Linked DNA regions of Homo sapiens: regions 2, 3 and 4 are each linked to region 1. Evidence: promoter capture Hi-C in human tissues and cell types (Jung and others, 2019). All regions are on one chromosome and are shown on one strand. Each heading gives the region's core, a stretch centred on a gene start or on the middle of the fragment in contact. The rest is flanking DNA. Distances are from core to core; before and after follow the strand shown.

What was found. Contacts are between HindIII fragments. The study calls those that stand out against the background at their distance.
Region 2: a fragment that was not itself captured here is called in contact with the fragment with the promoter of UTP20 in region 1 in 3 of the 25 tissues and cell types used here (mesenchymal stem cells, mesendoderm cells and thymus).
Region 3: a fragment that was not itself captured here is called in contact with the fragment with the promoter of UTP20 in region 1 in 3 of the 25 tissues and cell types used here (H1 embryonic stem cells, mesendoderm cells and thymus).
Region 4: a contact is called between a fragment that was not itself captured here and the fragment with the promoter of UTP20 in region 1, in 2 of the 25 tissues and cell types used here (adrenal gland and mesendoderm cells).

Annotation. Positions count from the first base shown.
Region 1 is chr12:101,278,696-101,281,395 of GRCh38, reverse strand. It overlaps UTP20 (UTP20 small subunit processome component), which reads right to left and starts at 1,291. Exons shown (of 62, transcript NM_014503.3): 1 at 1,069-1,291; 2 at 200-280. The coding sequence starts at 1,113. RefSeq lists enhancers at 1,218-1,267, 1,001-1,592. The HindIII fragment of the contact is 9,089 bases long and covers 1-2,700 here.
Region 2 is chr12:101,198,552-101,201,254 of GRCh38, reverse strand. All of the region lies in intron 3 of SLC5A8 (solute carrier family 5 member 8), which reads left to right. It also overlaps the pseudogene RNU6-768P. Among named protein-coding and RNA genes, the nearest start is that of SLC5A8, 10 kb to the left of the region's middle. The HindIII fragment of the contact is 7,035 bases long and covers 1-2,703 here.
Region 3 is chr12:101,371,037-101,373,736 of GRCh38, reverse strand. UTP20 (UTP20 small subunit processome component) reads right to left here. Exons shown (of 62, transcript NM_014503.3): 51 at 2,569-2,679; 52 at 774-853; 53 at 267-336; 54 at 1-152. Among named protein-coding and RNA genes, the nearest start is that of ARL1, 35 kb to the left of the region's middle. The HindIII fragment of the contact is 7,636 bases long and covers 1-2,700 here.
Region 4 is chr12:101,160,665-101,163,364 of GRCh38, reverse strand. It overlaps SLC5A8 (solute carrier family 5 member 8), which reads left to right. Exons shown (of 15, transcript NM_145913.5): 13 at 1,288-1,391. Among named protein-coding and RNA genes, the nearest start is that of SLC5A8, 48 kb to the left of the region's middle. The HindIII fragment of the contact is 7,218 bases long and covers 1-2,700 here.

The DNA of each region.
Region 1 (2,700 bases), core at 42-2,541:
AACTAGCCACATTTGGGCACCCAAATTTTTAATTTACTTTAAATCCAATTTGTCATATGTGGCTACTGTATGAAACAGCACAGGTCTAAAGCATTTCATGTCCAAAAAGGAATACCTTGAAAAACAATTCACTTCTACTAACAGAAGAAACTAAAACACCATGAACACTTGAAGATTGACTAGTATCACATTCTCTTACCTCCTCATAGCTTGCAGTTCTATCAATCCGGTGAATAATATCAATATTAACATTCCCCAGTCGTTCAGCAAATGTAAGAAACTGGAAGGGAAAGTATATTTAAGATACATAATTAATTAAAATTTATCAGATCTTTAATATCTATTTGAATGCTGCATGTAGGCATCTCTAATCACAAAGGATAAGTGGAAAAATAAACTGAAAAACATACGGCCGTAAACAAATTTACTGCATCACTGTTCAAAGATAATGAATACTTCTATGTTTGCATAATTTCTCTCAGCTATGTCATTTCAAATAAAATTTCCATTGCCAGACTGGTGAGCCTAGGTGGATGCTGGCAATTAGTCTCGCTAGATCTATTAGGTTTCATACCCTCCCATAAGCATGGGGACCTAGCAAAGTCGCTGCAATAAAAGTGTTTTTAAACATATACAGACCTATGATTGTATCCTAAGGAAGACCTGGAAACAATCTATCAAGGGGCAAACAGAGAAAGCGCTGTATATTTGCCCTTAGCTGGGAATCACTCACCGCCAGCCGACTCGCCCAATTCGGTCTTTAAAGATAAAAGAGCAGGGGAGAATTGGTCCTAAGCAATCTCCTGGAATAGTGAATTTAATTCTGGACTACAGGAAATTCCCAGGACTGGCCAGACCCCATAAAACATGGGTGAAACTTGCTGTCCACACTTCTTTCCTCCTCCAACCCATGTTTACTACATCCAGTGTCTCCCTCTTTCGCCGGAGCCTCCAGGAAAGTGACACACTCGGCCCAGAAGTCTGAGGCCCCTGGAGTCTCGCTCAGAGCCTGTCTCACGACTGAGGCAGCGGAGACCCGCGGCTCCCTGCCTAAGCTCCCGCGCTCACCCGGTAGGTGTTCTCGGTCTTGTGGGAAACGGGCTTTGTCTTCATGGCTGCAGAGGGCCAGTGGCCCGCGACGGCCTCGGGAGTGTCGAAGGGATGCAACCGACAGTAAGGAGGGGAAAGCGGCTCACAGGCTATACTCTCCGATTCCCAGATGCCCAGACTTTCTCACGTGCGGCTTGAGCCCCTGGGCGCCGCCATGTTGGAGACAAGGAGGAGCCTGAGTGGGTCACGTGGACGGAAAAAAGAACGGCGCAGGCGCACCCTTTGGTGGGGTGGGGCCTACAGGAGGCGGGGCTGCGCACATAAGGGCGGGCGTTTGGGTGAGGTGTTCTTTTCACTCCCTTCGGTAAAGGTTTAGAAGACAAATGTATTTTCATTATAAAATAAAACATACCTGTAATCGTTATCAACTAACATTACTGTCCCTCACTACGTACCTGCATCGTGCAAAGATCCTTTCATCCATAATTTCACAGTAAAGCTTATTAGGGATGTTAATACAAAGGAGGTACTGCGTCTATCTATATATCTATATATAGATATATACTTTTTTTTTTTTTTTTTTGAGACGGAGTCTCACTCTGTCTCCCAGGCTGGAGGGCAGTGGCGCGATCTCGGCTCACTACAATCTCCGCCTCCCGGGTTCAAGCAGTTCTCCTGCCTCAGCGTCCAAAGTAGCTGGGACTACAGGCACCCGCCGCCACGCCCGGCTAATTCTTTTGTATTTTAGTAGAGACGGGGTTTCACCTTGTTGCCCAGGCTGGTCGCGAACTCCTGAGCTCAGGCAATCCGCCCGCCTCGGTTTTCCAAAGTGCTGGGATTACAGGTGTGAGCCACCGCGCCTGGCCGGTACTGTGTATATTTTTAAGCCAATTTGACACAAGAGGAAACCAAGGTTGTGCAGCTGGTAACTGGCAGTCTTCACTCAGACTCTAAATTTTGGTATTCTTAACCACTACGCTGTAAATAAAATTGAAAAATAGAGAAGGAGTTTTAAGAAAAATCTTTTAATTTCATGCACAACCGCTGTTAATGTTTGGTGTTTTTCCCATCACTTTAATGTCTACACATAGCATGTTGTTAAATTGTACAGTTATATATACATATATGTACAATTTTAAAAAATAATTTAAAAATATAATTATTTACCCCATTTTACATTCATTCATTCATTCAGCAACTATTTCTTGAGAGTCCTCTGTGGACCAGGTACTGTTCTGGGAGCCAAACGAGAAAGGCAATAATAGTATTAATTAATTATTTGAAAATATTCACAGCCTTCAATTCCTGGGCTAAAGTGAGCCTCCCACCTCAGCCTCCCAAGTAGCTAGGGCTACAGGCATGCACCACCACACCCAGCTCTTTTATTATTATTATTATTATTATTATTATTATTATTATTATTTGTAGAGATGGGATCTTGCTATATTGCCCAGGCTGGTATCAAACTTCTGGACTCAAGCAGTCCTCTTGGCTTGGCCTCCCAAAGTGCTGGGATTACAGGGGTGAGCCACCATGCCCAGACTGGAAATACTTGGTCTGAGATGCTTACATTTTAGTCAAGGAGTGATGTTAAGTAGACAATTGGATATATTGTTGTACAGAGCTCACTGTAGCAGTCTGGGCTGCAGA
Region 2 (2,703 bases), core at 53-2,552, 80 kb after region 1:
AATTCTGGGCATGTTCCACATCGGTATTACCAACATCACAAGTGGATCATCTCATTTGTCGAGAACTGAGTTATAAACTTCATGAGTTACCTATTTAGGACTTAAGTGTAATTGAACATATTATGGTTTTAAAATGCAGTTCTGGGAATTACCAGAGGACTGACTTTAATCTGTGAAGAAATCAAGCATTCTGTTCTTATCAGGCTCAAACCACTCCCTGAGAGTAAATTAGAATGAAAGTGAAGGTGTTTTGATGACTAGAGTGTCAGTTGTGTGTTTTACTGTGACCAAAGCTGTAGGTACAGGCATAGACACAGAACTTAGTGTGCAATAGATGCTCAAAAAAGCTTATTTAACTGAATTGAAAATTAACATTCTCTAGGTCTAACCTCTTTTTTTCTTTTTTAAATTTTGGAAATCCTCATACAAATACTAAGAGAGAATAGAGCCCCTTAATGTGCTCATTCATCACTCTATGTTAATATTTATCAACTCATGGTCCATTTTAATTCACTCCCCCTTACCTCTAATAGATTATTTTGCTGCAAATATGTTATGTCATTTCATCTGTATTTCAGTATGTCCTTTAGAAATAAAGACTTTAAAAACCATAATCATACCATCATTGTACCTAAAATATTAATATTAATTTCTTAATTTCATATCAAGTCAGTGTTTACATTTCCCTGATTTTTTTTCAGTGTTTATAAGAATCAGGATCCAAATAAGCTTATGTGATTGCAATCAGTTGATGTCTCTTAAGTTTCCCTTTTCTGCTTTTTAAAATTGAAAACCAGTTTTTCTTTCTTTCTTTTTTCCTGACCACCTGATGCCTGTTGAGAAAACTAGTTTTTATTGAGGTATAGTTAACATACAATAAAATGCACAGAGCATGGGGAAGTGTACAGTTGGATGAGTTTTAGTAGTTGCCTAATAGCTTGTGTGACTACCACCCCGCTCAAGATATAGACTATTTCCGTCATCCACTCTCAGAAATTTTCCTTGCATGTCTTTCTAACAAATCTCCTATGGGCCCAAGAAATCATTTTCTGAGTTATGCTACCATAAACTAGTTTTCCCTGTTGTTAGATTTTATATAAGTGGAATCATATAGAGCCTTTTCATGTCTGGTTTCTTTTGCTCAGCAAAATGTTTTGAGATTCATTCATGCTGCTACATATATATCAGTAGTTCATTCCCTTTTTTTTTTTTTTTTTTTTTTTTTTTTTTTTTTTTTTTTTTTTTGCTGGTAGTACTTCATTTTATGCCTCTACCAACATTTTTTTATCCATTCTCTTGTTATAGACTTGGGTTGTTTCCAGTTTTAGGCTATAGTGAAGTAAGGGTGCCAAGAACATTCTTCTAAAGGTTTTGTGCATTTTGTTTTTCTTTTTCACACCTGTTTTCACTTCCATTGGAAATGAAATACATGGATGTAGTATAAAATTAAAAATATAATTCTATTTGGACCCAGCTGAGGATAGAAATGTGTGCAAATTTACAAGAAATTGCCAAACAGTTTTTCCAAGTGGCTATATCGTTTTCCATGTCCACTACGCAATATGTGAGAATTCTAGTCATTCCACATCCTTGCCAGCATTTGATATTATTCTTTTTTATTTCAGTCATTCTAGTGGGTATTACCTATTATTTTATTGTTGTTTCAGTTTTCACTTTCTATATGACTATTATGGCTTAGCTTATTATTAGACTATTATGGCTTAGCTTATTGGCTTCTGAAATAATAAAGTGAATAAAGACAAATAACCTAATAAAAAGTGAGCCAAAGACTTGAACACTTCACAAAAGCAGATATTCTTCTAATACATTACATGATATATCTATTCATTTACCTAGGCCTTTAAAAATTTCTCTTAGTGCTCACTTTGGCAGCATGTATACTAAAACTGGAACAATACAGAGAATATTAGCATGGCCCTTGCACAAAAATGATATGCAAATTTGTGAAGCATTCCATATTTTTTAAAAAAGGAAGAAAAGAAATAATAAAATAAAAAGTCTCTTAGTAATGTTTTGTAGCTTTGGATGTTGAGGTCTTTTACTATTTCTTAGATTTATTCCTAGATAATTGTTGTTTTTTATGCTATTGCAAATGTCATTGTTTTATTTTTCAATTATTCGTTGCAAGTGTATAAAAATACAACTGACTTTTATATGTTGATATTCCATCCTGAGAACTTGCTGAATTTGCTTTTTAAATCAAGCAGATTTTTGGTGATCCCTTAGGATTTTCATGTTGTTTATGAATAGTGACAATTTTACTTCTTTTCTAATCCTTATAGCTCTTAGTTCTCTTTCCTGTCTTATTGTAATGTTAATGTGAAAAGTTACATTGACTGAATTTTGAATATTAAACCAATTTTTGCATTCTTGGGATAAACCCTGCTTGCTCATAATGTATTATCCTTTTTATATATTACCGAATTCGATTTGCTAACATTTTGATAAGGCTTCATAAATGAATTGAAAAGTGTTCCCTCCTCCATTTTCTGAAATAGTTTATATAAAATTGTGTATTTATTTCTTACATGCTTGGTAGAAATCACCCTGAAGGCATCTGGGCCTACTCTTTGTTTTTGTAGAAAGATTTTGGTTTATGGATTCAGTTTATTTCGTAAATATAGAGTTATTCATATTTTAAAAGTCTTGTTGGGTCAGTTTTGGTAAATTGTATTTTTTAGG
Region 3 (2,700 bases), core at 40-2,539, 92 kb before region 1:
TCAAACAGCCAATCTTTTTTCTCGAGGCTGATTTTACCAAGTAGGGACTTGATTGTCATGGATGCCATCTTTTTGCACGTGGCAGAGTCATCATTGATCGTCATTAGACAAAGAGGGATAAAGAACATTCCGCAGTTCTCATGGAGCAGCCCCTAAAAGAAAAGAGGCACGTGTGAGCACTCAGAGTGGAATTCCTACAGATGCTCTAGCAAAGGGGGACTGAGGACTTCCAGGAGTCACGGGGCTTATCTCTGGGGTCACAGTACCTGAGGGAACGTGTCAAAGAGATAGGCGATCATTTCCAAGGTGGACTCTCTCCCGGTCTCATGTTCGTAACTAGGGGAAGGACATTAGGTGGATTTGTTAGTATCTTCTAAATTTACAAATAATTATTTAAAAAATGAAAATATTGTATCAAGGTGTCAGTTTACTTCTTAAAAAAATGGAAAATGCTCTGTTTTCCTAATTTTAATGCTTGTATGTATCCATTAAGCTATCACTGTACAATTTTAAATGTAAGTGTGTCAGATTTCAACATTCTCCTAAGTGGACTCTTATGACAATCAACGGTTAAATTAGATTGAAAAGCAACTCAGAGAACGGCTATATGAAGCCAAGCACAATGTCTGATTATCAAGTCAATGAGTCATATAACAGTATGCTCAGAGAATGTACCATTATACTTAGGCCCCATCCTTTTTAAGACAGCCGCCATGTTAAAGGGAAAGAAGAAACTACCCTCCGCCCCTGTGTAGTTAATAGCTTAAGCTTACTTCAGTTGAGCGAGCATGAATTCCAAGTTTGGTCTCAATTTGTCACCCAGGGGATAGTCAAGAATATATTTCAGAAAAACCTAGGAACAAAAGTCACACAGATGATTATTTGGATCTCACCTCTAGTATTCCTGTTTCCTAAGCTGCTTTCTGGAACTCACTGGTAGGTTATAAAAACTTTACAGAATGGCAATCAATCAGGCTTTCCAATGCACTCCAGCTAAATCTGCCTATGAAGTCAATAGCAACTGTGACCCTTCATTTCTCCCACCATTCATCTGGTCCTGCCCTATGTGCCTGACAGAGGCAAGCCCTGGCCTGCCACTGGCACTGTGGTTTAAGACTACAAATCTAAGCCCACAGGTTGGAAGCTGATCTCTCTGTGACAGGTGGTGACAGGTGTACCACAGTATGGACTGTGGTCCAATCTGGTATCTCCCCTTCAACAAGAATAACAACACAGTGATAATATCAATACTGATAATAATAACTAATGCATTTACTAAAAACCCTCTATGTGCCAAGCACTGCGTTAAGTGTTTCTCAGTTAAATCTCATCATTCCCTTAAGAAGTTCGTGATAATAGCCCATTTTCTAGTTGAAGGGAATGAAGTTGGCCGAGACAATAAGAAACTTGTTCATGTGACACTGCCAGAATTCCATGCCTAGTCTGTGTCCAAAGGCTGCACTTTCAAACCACTATGGTATCTAGCCTCCTTTATTAATAAACTGTGAGAACTAGGCGACATCATTCAAGTTTCCAAGCCTGCCTTTCCCTCGCGGTAAAATGGGGATACCGTTTCTTCTGAAGGGTACCTGTAAACAGAGGTCATGCATTTAAAGTGCTAGGCACACAGCTAGTGCTTAATAGCAGCTGACCCTTCTTCTTCCTAATAGTGGCCAAGCAATTATTTCCAGAGACATGCATCTTGCCTTCCACCCTGGCCTCCTCAGCAGCCCAAACCCACCTGCAACCCTGAGTTCCTATTTCCAACTTAGACCTTTCCACCTCTTTGGGCACAGTATGTGTTCATAAAATTAGAGATTGACAGATGTATAGATATAAACCTGATCCTGTCACTCCTCTCCCTAAGGATTTAAATAGCTCCTTGCTATTCTTAGAACAAAGCCCCACCAGGCACCATGGCTCACGCCTGTAATCCCAGCACTTTGGGAGGCCAAGGTGGGTGGATCACAAGGTCAAGAGATCAAGACCATCCTGGCCAACATGGTGAAACCTCATCTCTACTAAAAATACAAAAATTAGCTGGGTGTGGTGGTGCATGCCTGTAGTCCCAGCTACTCAGGAGGCTGAGGCAGGAGAATCACTTGAACCTGGGAGGTGGAGGTGGCAGTGAGCCGAGATCGCGCCACTGCACCACTCCAGCCTGGTGACAGAGTGAGACTCCGTCTCAAAAAAAAAAAAAAAAAAAAAAAAAAGAACAAAGCCCCAAATCTTTAACAAGACCACAAGGTCCTGCCCAACCTGGCTCCCCACCCCTCAATTCACTTACCTGTGTTGAGCTCCTCAACCAAGCTAAGCTCTCACTCACCTCAAGCCTCTACTGCCCCCTCACCTTGAAAGCTAAGCCTTTTTCTTCCTTCAAATTTTGGCCTGCCTGTCAGTCCCCAGAAAAAGCCTCCCCTGACCACCTGCACCAGGACGCCCAAGTCTCAGCATAAAGCAACAATACGACACAAGGTGGTCTTCAGAATTCAGCCAGTGTTGACACCTCTGCCACAAAGATGCGGCAGGGCCCAGCCCTTGCTATGGGGATAAGTGCTCTCTACAAACCTGTCTACACTGGACCCTGGCAGGTTCGCTTTGTGCAGAGACTGCCAACTTGGATACTTTCCGCATGACCTCATCGATTTCTGGGACCAACAGCTTTCTTGATAAAATTGCCTAAGATACAAAAGGAAAAGA
Region 4 (2,700 bases), core at 119-2,618, 120 kb after region 1:
CAAAAACCTGCCTCCCTCCCCATGCCCCAGGTTTTATATATTGTTCTCAGCAGAATGATTGTTCTAAATCAAGCAGCTATCAAAACTGAAAGTGGAATCCTAGAGCAATCATTGTAGAAATGATCATAGAATGTTCATGTTACTCTTTCACTTAAAACATTGCAATGAGTGCCATTGCCTGTAGAGTAAAATTCCAACTCATGCCTGGTCCCACAAAAAGCCCCCTGCCTATCTTTCATCTTGTAATCACTGTCTTGCTCACTGTGCCTCAGTCAGCTGGTGTTTAGTCTCTGTTTTCCTCAAGAACATTTTGTTTCTCAGATCTCAGTTCAAATGTCATTTATTCCCAAAGGTTTTCTCTGACCACTTGTAGTGTAGTTCCTCCCTCTTCACCCTGTTAATAGCACATCATCTTGTTTTACTTTCCTTACAGCACTTTCTACTAGTGGAAATTATTATATTTATTAATTTGTTTATTGTATTTATCTCTCCATTAGAGTATAAACTATATGTTAGCAGGAATCTTATCTACTTTATTTTTAAAAAATAATTTCAACTTTTATTTTAGATACCTGTGCAGGTTTCTTACTTGGGTAAACTCTTGCCTGTCTCCCTTCACCCTCTGGTAGTCCCCAGTGTCTATTGTTCCCTTCTTTGTGTCCATAAGTAACCAACATTTAGCTCCTACTTATAAGTGAGAACATGTGGTATTTGGTTTTCTGTGCCTGCATTAATTTGCTTGGATAATGGCCTCCAGCTGCATCCATGTTGCTGAAAAGGACATGATTTTGTTCTTTTTTCATGGCTGCATGGTATTCCATGGTGTATATGTACCACATTTTCTTTATCCAGTCCACCATTGATGGGCACCTAGGTTGATTGCATGTCTTTGCTGTTGGGAATAGTGCTGCGATGAACATATAAGTGCACGTGTCTTTTTGGTAGAACAATTTATTTTCCTTTGGATGTATACCCAGTAGTGGGATTGCTGGGTCAAATGGTTTATCTACCTTATTTATGGCTGACTGTCCAATCACAAGAGCAGTGCCTGGGACATCATGCAGAATTGAATGAATAAACATGACCTTCAAGTATTTTAGTATATAGTCAAGGTGAAGTTTTGCTTTCAATTCCTGATCTGATAAGATAAAATTAGGACAGCAGGTTATGACATTAAAAACATTATTAAGTGTTATATTTTGACCTTGCCATGGGAATCACTGGTATATACTGGTAGTTGCTAGTGGCATTACATGAAATCTTACCGTTGTGTTTTTGCTCTCTTAGGACTCCACTGATGGATAACTGGTATTCTTTATCATATCTGTACTTCAGCACTGTTGGAACTTTGGTAACATTATTAGTGGGGATACTTGTCAGTTTATCAACAGGTAACTATCTAAACATTAGTATTGTTGTATTTACCTCTATATCAGTTTTTACTGTATCTGTTTTATAGCTATTTATGTTATTTTACTATGATCCTATTGCCAACTAGTTTAATTATTTCTTCTGTTTTACTCATGGGAAATCTGAAGGCCTAGACTTGAAAGCAGAAGACTCATTTCTATTTGAATCTTGGTTCTGCCCTTTAGGGGCTGCATGAACTTGGGCAAGTCACATAGCTACACTGAGCCTCAGCTTTCTTATGTATAAAATGAGGACAATAATAATCGACCTGCCCATCTCACAAGTTGCTGTAAGACAAAAATAAGATGCTTGAAAAGAACTTCATAACTGCTATGATGTTAGGGATTTTACACATATTTTTATAATAACCCAATATGCTGTGATCTTTACATGGTCCAGTATTCATTCTTTGTGAACTGTAAAGAAGCATACACAGGTTATATCTAAACATAGTGTGGAGGCTTTTTTTTCAGATATTTATCATTTTTTAAAAAGTGTGTTCATTTTTAAAAAATCAAATTGATACACATAGTATATAAATTGCTCTCTGGGATTGCTATAGAACGGTTATCTTGGGACTCCATTTTGTCCTCATTCTATGAATTCTCTTAGCCCCTGTTCCTGTGTTGGGTTTTCTACTGCCTATATTCATTACTTCTCATTCTCATTTACTCCCTTAATTGAATGAAACACATCCTATAGCATATTCTCAAGAAAGAGTAGACAAAAGAAGAGGTTTTGGAAACTTTGTGTGTCTGAAAAAAAATTATTTAATCTATCTTATGCTTGATTGATTGTTTGAGTAGAAATTGCTAGGGTTGAAAAGAACTTTTCTTTTTTCTGAGAGGATGTCTGAATTTTTTTCTAGCTTGCTATGTTGCTGTTGTGACAGCGCTCTGCTACCAGCTGACACTTTGTGTGTGTCCCATTTTCACAATGACTGCCTTGGCCTAGGCCTTCAGTAGGGCCCATTCAATCTGAAGATCCATGCCCTTCAGTTCTGGACATTTTCTTTTTTGTTTTCTTTTCTTCCTTTTTATTTCTATTTTTAATAATTTTCTGTGTTCTCTCTCTGAGAACTCCTATTAGTCAAACATTTGAATCAGAATCATGGACAGTTCCTCTAATTTTCTCGTTTTTTTCTCTCTTATTTTTCCTCTCCGTGTCTTTTAGGTCTACTATGTGAGATATTTTTTCACTTACTTTTCCAATAATTCTCAAAGGAGTGCTCTGATCCAATTTTGAGAATAGTCTGTAGGGGAACGAGGGCAGGGAAGAGGCTATTGCAGT